2 separate regions of the Homo sapiens genome follow, and region 2 is linked to region 1. The links are contacts of gene promoters, found by promoter capture Hi-C in blood cells and fetal thymus (Javierre and others, 2016). All regions are on one chromosome and are shown on one strand. Each heading gives the region's core, a stretch centred on a gene start or on the middle of the fragment in contact. The rest is flanking DNA. Distances are from core to core; before and after follow the strand shown. Region 1 holds the start of DLGAP1-AS1 (DLGAP1 antisense RNA 1). Region 2 has its middle 13 kb from the start of LINC01895.

Region 1 (5,084 bases), core at 1-2,500:
AGAAGTTTTAGACCTCAGCCTCTGGCCCTGGGCCTTCTGAAATGACCTTCCTCCAAACACCATTTAATTTCCGCTAACTTAGTTAATGAATGGAACTTTCTGAAGACAGCAGTTACTTTGATCTGAACCCCTTTCCTAGTTTCCAGTTAACATAGCCAGAGGGAGACAGAAGGGGTGCCCGCCTCTCAATGGGTGCCCTCTCCTCCTGCGTGGCTGGAGCAGCTCCCAGCTGTAGCTATTCCTCTAACGCAGAGAGAGCTGCAGAAAGCAGTTCCCAAAAGGAAGAAGGCAAGTTACAAATACCGCCGTTGGCATTTTCGTGGGTGTTTCCCGCCACATAGAGATAAAAGCTTTGAGGTGGGGCTTTGAGGCACACTCTCTGGGTAGCTGGGCCTGCAGTCTGGAAATCCTAAGTAATCCTTGCAAATAGGCTAACTGGAAGCCAGCAATACAAATGAGCAGTGCTTCTGGCCTGAGAGAAAGGTGTCTGCATTCAAAGTACAACTTCAGATAAAAATGGAAAATGCCAGTCCCACCCTGCAGGAATCCTGTTTCTGGGCTGTTTATCCTCACTGCCATCCACCCTACCCTTGGCTGTGACTAGGATGTGAAGAAAGAGATTGGGTGGAAAAGGCTACCGCAGCTCTTGCTCCGTTTAACTCACCACCTTAAAAAACATGGCCTTGGCTGCTGCTTTAAAACAACAACAACGAAAATCCCCAGCCCCAACCCAGAGGTTTAACCCTGCAGCTAAGGTGAAGTTTTTGTTAAGGTGATAAGGTAAAAAAGGACGCCATTCTGAGCCTTGACTTCCACTCTTCATACTTTTCGGAAGACAAGTCCAGCAAAGACCTCCACCCCTTCCAAAGAGCGACTTACCTCGTAGCTGATCCACAGATTGCAACGTACAGATGTGATGTTCCAGGCTTGGCCACAAGGGGACACTAGAGAGTAGGACTGCCCGCGTCAATGTTTTGTTTTTTACAGACTTTTGGTTGGGAGGGAGGGAGGGAGGGAGGGGGGTGTGGGAGTGGTGGGGGAGATGCTGGCTTTAAAAAAAAGTCCATTTGTTCCCTGAGATTGTGCCACTTGCCCTTTTATAAGTCAAAGGTTGCCACGTTACCTGTTGCCAGGTTCCTGAGAGTGCTTGGGGAAAATGTGGGCGAGAGAGGCACAGCACAGTCCTCCGGCTTGGTAGGTTTCAAGCTCTTTTGACTGGGCTGGCGCTGACATTTGCAGGGGCAGCTGCTGTGGATTGCCTGCGCATTGTTTGGCTGTAGTTCTAACAGAGGAGTGGCTGCGTCTGACATCATTTCCAGGCATCAAGTGCCTGGGGCTTTTTTTTTTTTTTTTCTTTAATGACGAACTCTCTGACCCCTCCCTGCCTGGATTTTTGTACAGTACATGCACTGTGCAAAACAGCCTCCACTCAGGAAGCCCAAGTTTTGTAGCAGCTTGTTGAAACAACTTGGGTGCCTTTTAAAAAAAATAAAGTTGTGACTCTGAAACAAACCTTTCCATTCTTCCTCCTTGCTGAGAACAATGTTGCGTTTGATTAGCAGCGCAGCCAGTGCTTTCTGAAAGATCTGCTCTCCCCAGAAGAGGCGGCTGCTATCAGTTGAATAGATCTCTAGGCCAGACATGCCGAGGCTTGGGGCATTTGTCTGGCGTTAGGAAGTGTCTGGAATACTAGCAACTACCAACTGGCGTGTCTTATGACTACAGGAATTATTACACTACCCTCCATTTCATTCACATCCCCTCTCCTCCCCTTACACACACACACAAGCATATTTTTTTCTACTTTAGAAAAAGTTGAGCGAGTCATCTTGTGGTTTCCGTGGAGGATGTAACTGGGAGAGAAGACTGTGGGATACCTTGTATCTCCCAGAGGGGGGCCGGGAATCATGGTGTATGACCCACCCCAACAGCCTCTGATCTCTGCCTTCTCACCACTGACCGCCACGCTTTGGGTGGCCTTAAATGTGAAGCTGTAAATATTTTGAAATAAGGTAGTGATTTTTCCATGTGCATTTTGTTTTGTGGCATTTCTCTCCTTCTGCAATATTTTAAAAGTTGCAACTGTGCACCCCTTGTTGACCACTCCAAATTCATTCATTCACTGAAACTTAAGAGTTCCTGCAGAGTGAGGATGGCTGTGCACGAAGGAGTCCCTCGTGGAAACCACGGTGCTTTAGTGGACAAGGTGTTTACTAGAGAGTGTTTACTGGCGGGGGGCGGGGGAGATAAACAAAGGTGGTTTGAGTTAATGGTCAGATGGGAGTTGGAGCCCTGAGTACTCTAACTCTGTCACTGAATCTCTAGATGAGTTAGGGATGTCCGTTGCCTGCTCTGAGCCTTAATATTTTCATCAGTTAAATGGGGATAGTGGGATCTTTCACATATGTGAGATCATGTCTATTTTCTTCTTTTTCTTTTCTTTTCTTTCTTTTTTTTCTTTTTCTTTTTCTTTTTCTTTTTCTTTCTTTCTTTTTCTTTTTTTTTTTTTTTTTTTTTTTTGAGGCAGGGTCTTGCTCTGTCACCTAGGCTGGAGTGCAGTGGCACAGTCATGGCTCATTGCGGCCTCCACCTCCCAAGCTCAAGTGATCCTCCCACCTCAGCCTACCGAGTAGCTGAGACTTCAGGCGTGCACCACCATGACCAGCTAGTTGTTGTTGTTTGGGTTTTTTTGAGACGAGGTCTCACTCTGTTGCCCAGGCTGGTCTCCAACACCTGGGCTAAAGCGATCCTTATGCTTCAGCCTCCCAAAGTGCTGGGATTACAGGTGTGAGCCACCACACCCAGCCCCCATGTCTATTAAGTTCTTAGCACAGTGTCCAGTACACAGAGTAAGGATTTGCTCTCTGGTGATTAGGAAGATCTAATGGCATGTCACGGGTCTGGACTGAATCTCATCTCATCATCTTTGTTGTTGCCAGGGTTTGCGCATTTTTGCCGGTGGAGGACTCCAGCCAGACCGCTGATTTGTCTGGCATTTGTTGGAAAGTCCGGCCAGCATAACACATCACCGCAAGGAGCAGGAGCCCTATGATGCACTGTTAAGTGCACAACTATGGGGTCTGCTTGGCTGGAAGCAGCAGCAGCAAACTTGTCTATTAGTTATTTTGTCCTCATCAGTGCCAGCTGCTTTCCCAAGATGGCAGAACATTCATCATTGCTACCAGACAGCCTCGTTGGAGCTCTTTCTCTGGCCTCCTTTTTTGGCTTCTTTCTTCAGCTCTTCAGCATCATTCTCTGTGGGACCCTCCCTAGTTTGCAAATTCTTGTCTAAATTTCACTCATTATCATAACCATCCAATTTGAAAGAAACCTTGTCATCTAGTTGAGCCCCCTATCAGATGTTGGTACAATTGCTATAGCCTCCCAGCCAAAAGATGTGCTGGTCTGTGCTTGAACAGGTCCAGGGGCTGAGAACTCCCTCTGTTATGAGGTCCTCATATTCCTTCTATGGACGGACAATCAATGCCTGGAGAATTATTCTTTATGCCTCTCTGAGCCCTTGCCTTTGTTGTTCCTTTGGGGACTTATACAAAACAGGCCCATGCTATCCTCTAAGCAAGAGCCCTCCAAATAATTGAAAACCCCCCTTTCTTCTTTTCCAAATGAAACACCCCGTCTTTTTATTTTTATTTTTTGTTTTTTATTTTTGACGTAGTCTTGCTCTGTCGCCAGGCTGGAGTGGTGTGATCTTGGCTCACTGCAACCTCAATCTTTTGGGCTTCAGCAATCCTCCCGCCCCAGCCTTCCAAGTAGCTGGGACTACAGGTGCCACCTACTTGGAAGGCTGGGGCAGGATTCTACCACTCCTGGATAATTTTGTGGAGATGGGTTTCACCATGTTGCTCTAGCTGGTCTCAGACTCCTGAGCTCAAAGAGATCCTCCCACCTGGACCTCTCAAAGTGCTGGGATTACAGGAATGAGCCACCGCAACAGGCCTAGGTCCATACTTCTAATCCTACATGCCTTTCCTGAAATAGACACCTTACCTGACATTACAACCATAAGTCCAATCGTTCCCATTCTGTATTTCTACAATAGAAATACATTTATGTCCCCAGTTTAGGTCCTTCCAAGTTTCTTTTTTTTCTTTTGGCCTCTTCACATCATTTTGTTTTCTAAAATAGCCTGTGGCTTCAAGTTACCTCTTGAATATATTCTTAATCTCACTTGTACTACCTCTGCCCTGTTCCCTGGATTTGCAAATGTTCTTTTCAGTGCTTCTCAGCCTATCTCTGGTAAGGGACCAGTTTGTTTGTTTGCCCTCAATCTGCTGCAGATTAGTGCTTTGGTAAAATGCAACAAAAAAGAATTACTAGAAAGAGGACTTTTTTTTTAAGACATACAAAAAACAAACCCATAATTTTTGTTTTGTTTTGTTTTGTTTTTAGATTCAACAGGTAAAACACTCTATAAAATTGCTATAAAAGTTTCTAAACACTTACATTCAATTTTCTTTGTTTTTTTTTTTAGACGGGGTTTCATTCTTGTTGCCCAGGCTGGAGTGCAATGGCACCGTCTCGGCTCACTACAACCTCTGCGGCTCACTGCAACCTCTACCTCCCGGGTTCAAGCAATTCTCCTGCTTCAGCCTCCTGAGTAGCTGGGATTACAGGCATGTGCCACCACCCCCGGCTAATTTTTGTATTTTTAGTAGAGACAGGGTTTCACCATGTTCGCCAGGATGGTCTCAAACTCCTGACCCCAGGTGATCCACTGGCCTCGACCTCCCAGAGTGCTGGGATTACAGGTGTGGGCCACCGTACCTGACCCTACACTCAATTTTCATAGCATGTGTCACCCTGCACTGTGACACAGTTTGCAAACGGGCACCACTCTGCAGACCAGGCTTTGAATAACCCTGCTCTGTACACACAGGGGTGTTGGAAATGCTTAACAACCGGCTCTCTGATTGAAGAAAATCCACAGGGGGGAACCTGGATTTCAGGCATTTGCTGATTTCCATGGTGTAAATACACCAAGGTCAACAATTTCAAGCTAACAGTGAAAAGTGACTGAATACAGAGGTAGAAAGAAATGTGCACAATCGAGCTTAGCAAGCTGA
Region 2 (5,084 bases), core at 833-3,332, 230 kb after region 1:
ATGTCAAGTATTTTCCTTTGCTTAGTTTTCTAAGCAACATACAATAATTAACATATTTCTCAATTTTCCCATGGTTTAAATCTCCTCTCAATACATCTGATTTTCTCTCAGTCTCTTCATGGAATCATCCCTACCTGAATGTTCCAACCTGCGCCTCTCTCTGGACTGTGACTCTCTAGGCTTGCAACAAAGCTGTCTTCCTGGGTCTTCCTCATCTTTTCCCTGGGGGTACTGTTCACATCCTTCTTTTGTTGGATTCCCTAAATTCAGTGTCTTCTTCTTTTAGGTTCTTTCGCTTATTTTGGTGGAGTACTTCCTCTAGTATCTTTCTGGGAAAGCGTACTCAGAGATCAATTTTTTGAGCCCTTGAACATCTGGAGAGATCTTCATTCCAGTCTCATATTTAATCAAAATTTGACTGGAAAGAGAAGTCTAAATACAAATATCATTTTCCTGTGAATTTTTATGTTATTTTATTTTATTTGCATACAATGTAGTCATTAAGAGGTCCAGAACCATTCTAAGACCTGTTCCTTTCTAAGAAATCAGATTTTTTTTTGTGGAAGTTTTCTTTGTTTTTGTTTTTAGAGATGGTGTCTTGCTGTATCACCCAGGCTAGAGGTGTAGCCTCAAACTCCTGGGCTCAAGTGATCCCACCCTCCCAAGTAGCTACAACTATAGGTGCACACCATTATGCCCGGGTAAGTTTTAAAATTTTTTTGTAGAGATAGGGTCTCACTATGCTGCCTCGGCTCGTCTCAAAATCCTGGCCTCAGGCAATTCTCCCACATTGGCCTCCCAAAATGCTGGGATTACAGGTGTGAGCCACCATGCCCAGCCCTGTTTGGGAGCTTTTAAGATCTTTTAAGTTCTTCATTCTTCACAATGATGTACCCTAAAGTCTTACTGTAACTATGCTTGGCACTTTGTGTGCTCTTACCGTCTGAAAGCTCTTTTTTGTTTTTGTTTTTGCTTTTAAAATTGAGACAGGCTCTTGCTCTGTTACCCAGACTGGAGTGCAGTGGTATAATCATGGCTCACTGTGGCAGCAAACTCCTGGGCTCAAGTGATCGTCCGACCTCAGCCTCCCAAGTAGCTGGGACTACAGGTGTGTGCCACCACACTGAGCTAATTTTTAAATTTTTTTGCAGAGATGAGGTCTCCCTATGTTGCTCAGGCTGGTCTCAAACTCCTAAGCTGATGTGATCCTCTGGCCTCCCAAATTGTTGGGATTACAGGTGTGAGCCACAGTGCTGGGCCTGAAAACTCTCATAGGTCAGTTTCAGGAAATGTTCTCAAATTATTTCTTTGTTGTTTTCTCTCTCCATTATGTTCTGTTCTCTCTTTCAAACTCTTGTTATTCATTTGTTGGACTTTCTGGTTTGATTCTCTAATTTTCTTATCTTTTCTCTTTCATTTTATTTTCCTGTGTCTTTTTTTTCCTACTCTCTGAGAGATTTCTTAAATTTTATCTTCCATCCGTTCTAGTGAGTGCTATTTTTTTCTTTTTCTTTCTTGCTTTTTTTATTTTTTTTGAGATGGAGTCTCACTCTGTCACCCAGGCTGGAGTGCAATGGCGTGATCTCGGCTCACTGCAACCTCTGCCTCCCAGGTTCAAGCAATTCTCCTGCCTCAGCCTCCTGAGTAGCTGGGATTACAGGTGCATGCTATCATGCTGGCTAATTTTTGTATTTTTAGTAGACATGGGTTTTCACCGTGTTAGCCAGGATGGTCTTGATCTCCTGACCTCGTGATCCGCCCACCTCAGCCTCCCAAAGTGCTGGGATTACAGGCATGAGCCACCGTGCCCGGCCTGTGAGTGCTATTTTTTAAATGTTCTTAATTGATTCTAAGATGCATATTTTTCAGTTTATAACCTCTGTGATCAGAATGTACTACATAAATAATGAACCGTGACAATGACCATTGTTCAGGCACCAGTCACAGCGTCATTGCCATTGCCCGTGTATGCACAAGCTTGCCATCTCCTCAGTTGAGTTACATGCATGGTTGATGCCACACATGTTGATACTACATGTCAGGAAATGCAACTGAAGGCAGTAAAAATGTCAAATCATTTGGAATAAATGAGAAAACTTTCAAAGCAACAAGGAGTTGGTATGACCAATTTGTGCATTGTACAGGTTTATCATTGAAGCATTGAAACTTAGTTTGTCAGAAGCTTCCTGCGGACCTTGGACCGAAACACCATGACATTCAGTGATGTGATTCAATGGAGAAAAAGTGAAATGATTATTTAAGTTAAATAAAGCCAAATTAAGTGCTAGCTTCAAAATTAAAAAATTGGTATCAATAGCTTAGAAAAAAATCCCTGACACACTAGTGGAACAATTGGCTAAAATATAATGCATCATCAATACTCTTAATGATATGGAGAAAGATATTAAATGGGGAAAAAACAATGTCAATAATTCTGAGCTGGGAACTGGTTTCACAGGACTCACACTTTAAATGTGAAGATGTTTATGAATTCCTTAAGTAAAGTGTTTTGCTTATTTTTTCTTTTATATATACAAACAATGGTGATGTTTAATACATTTATCTCTAAGTAACATTAAAAGATTTTTTCAATGGGCAAAACTTGTTATGTTAAGCAGTGTCATACATTGGTTAGCGGTTTTGTGTTTTTTTTCTTTTCTTTTCTCTTTTTTTGAGGCAAGATCTTGCTGCTCAGGCTGGAATGCAGTGGCATGATCATAGCTCACTACAGGTGTTTACCACCACACAAGGCTAATTTTTATCTTTTAATTTTGTAGAGATGGGGTCTTTCTCTATTAGCCAGGCTGGTCTTGAACTCCCAGGCTCAAGCAATCCTCCTGCCTTGGCCTCTTAAAGTGCTGGGATTATAGGAGTGAGCCACCGTGCCTGGCTTTCTTTTTTTAATGGTACAGAAAATAATTGGGTGTCTTATAGTTACAGGCATCTTAAATGTGGGTATTTTAATTTTTTAAGAGTTGGGTTGCTGGGCACGGTGGCTCACGCCTGTAATCCCAGCACTTTGGGAGGCCGAGGCAGGTGGATCACGAGGTCAGCAGTTCGAGACCAGCCTGACCAACATGGTGAAACACTGTCTCTACTAAAAATACAAAAAAATTAGCTGGGTGTGGTGGTGGGCGCCCGTAATCCCAGCTACTTGGGAGACTGAGGCAGGAGAATCACTTGAAACTGGAAGGCGGAGGTTGCAGTGAGCCGAGATTGTGCCACTGCACTCTAGCCTGGGCAACGAAAGCAAAAACTCTGTCTCAAAAAAAAAAAAAAAAAGAGTTGGGTTTTTCCTGAAAAGTTTTTTGGTGACATCTTGTTTCTGCTGCATGGATAAAATATTTGTTCATCTCTGTGAGAATGTTCCTGATTTTTTTTAAGTTTTCACTTCTATGTATAGTCCAGGTTTCCTCTGAATTGATTTTTCCCCCCAACTGATGTTTAGAACTACAACTTTCATATGAGAAACTCCCCCTCAGATGTCTGATCATCCTTGGCTTCCTGTCATTGCATAAAATTTAACTACTAAAAAGCTGTTTGAATACTTTGCATATATGGAAGGGGGCTTGGGCTTGCTTGGAGGCTGAGCTTCTTCAATGAGGGCCCTTCCACACCCTCAGTTTCAGGATTTTTAGGTATGTTTCTCTCATGCTGATCAGCTTCCCCAGAAGAAAAAAAAAAATCGATTTCTTGCCTGGGGGGTTTACACCTGACAGCCAACATTCAGGAAGCGACTTGCACACCCCCCCACCCCTCAACAAGGTGGGGCTCACTCCGCTGAAGATTTAGAGGGAGGGTCCTAAGGATGTACCCAACCTGTTCCATTCCCTCCTTTATGTCTCTTCCAGAAGGCACTGCCGTGCCATTTCCCCGGCTGCCTTGTGCTTCCCGCGGGAAACCAAGCTGCCTTACGGGGAGCTGAGTTAGCTCACCACTCTTTCTGCTTCCGGCCTTTGCTCTTGTCTTCCCTCCTGTACTCTTGGTTCTGTGTGTTTACAGCTTTTGTTTGTCCCTTTGTCATAATTTCAGTCATGTTTCTGGAAGGAGAAGCAGTAAATGTGTGTGTTCAGTCCACTGTCCATCAACAACAGAATCTCCTCATATTCCCAGGCCGATTGGCATATTTTCAAACGAAGTTGTATAATTTGCTTTAAGGTCAACGTTTGTAGGTGATTATTTTCTTTTTTTCCTCCTCACTTCATTCTCTCCAAAGCATGATCATTTTACTTGGTTTAACTTCACTTTCATTTTTATGAGAGTCTGGCTCTGCCGCCCAGGCTGGAGTGCAGTGCTGCGATCTCGGCTCACGGCAGCATCCGCCTCCCGGGTTCACGCCATTCTCGCGCCTCAGCCTCCCGAGTAGCTGGAATTGGAGGCGCGCCCCGCCCAGTCCAGCTAATTTTTACATTTTTAGTAGAGACAGGGCTTCACCATGTCGGCCAGGCTGGTCTCGAACCACGGCCGTCAAGTGATCCGCCCGCCTCGGCCTCCCAAAGTGCTGGGATTACAGGCCTGAGCTTCATTTTCATTTGGTGAGAGAAGAGGAATTTAATTTTGGAAAATGGAGAAGGGAAGGGACAGGAACCCAAGTCGCGAGTGAGTTCATTTAGCGCCCACGCAACCCCAGCAGGACAGGCACTAGCACCCGTTCCTTGGGGAAAAGGGCAGGAAGGTTCCACAGCTGGCTCATGGCTGCGCGAGGCCCCTAAATGGCAGATCCGCGGAGGCACTCAGACTCCGCCTCGGGGACTCCTCGATCTTTGCTGAGAAAAGATGGGAAATACCGGAAGCACGCGCTCAGACGCCTTGGCTATCGTAGGCCGGATGCTTTTTTCAGCCATCTTCTAGAACCTTCCCTGCCTTTTACAGCCGTGGCAGAACACATTTCCTCCTTCCCGCCTCCCTCGGCCTCCGGGCACTTCCTCAGGACCTGTCAGCCCCCGCCACCCTCACCCCTAACCCCGGCCAGCTGTAGATCGGCAGTCCCGGCTAAGAGCCTCTACTGGGGAAATCACTTAAGGATTTTCTTTCCCAGCTTAGAGCTGGGAAGGCTGATGTGCGGTCATTTCCGGGGATAAAGA

What was found. Contacts are between HindIII fragments. The CHiCAGO score rates a contact against its expected background, and 5 or more counts as called.
Region 2: a contact is called between a fragment that was not itself captured here and the fragment with the promoter of DLGAP1-AS1 in region 1, in 1 of 17 cell types (activated CD4 T cells). The highest score is 5.5, in activated CD4 T cells.

The regions. Positions count from the first base shown.
Region 1 is chr18:3,590,280-3,595,363 of GRCh38, reverse strand. DLGAP1-AS1 (DLGAP1 antisense RNA 1) reads right to left here and starts at 1,250. Exons shown (of 3, transcript NR_024101.1): 1 at 1,124-1,250; 2 at 880-944. The region is part of intron 7 of DLGAP1 (DLG associated protein 1); the gene reads left to right. RefSeq lists enhancers at 1-78, 1,491-1,610 and a silencer at 199-493. The HindIII fragment of the contact is 5,788 bases long and covers 353-5,084 here.
Region 2 is chr18:3,360,590-3,365,673 of GRCh38, reverse strand. No RefSeq gene overlaps it. Among named protein-coding and RNA genes, the nearest start is that of LINC01895, 13 kb to the right of the region's middle. The HindIII fragment of the contact is 205 bases long and covers 1,980-2,184 here.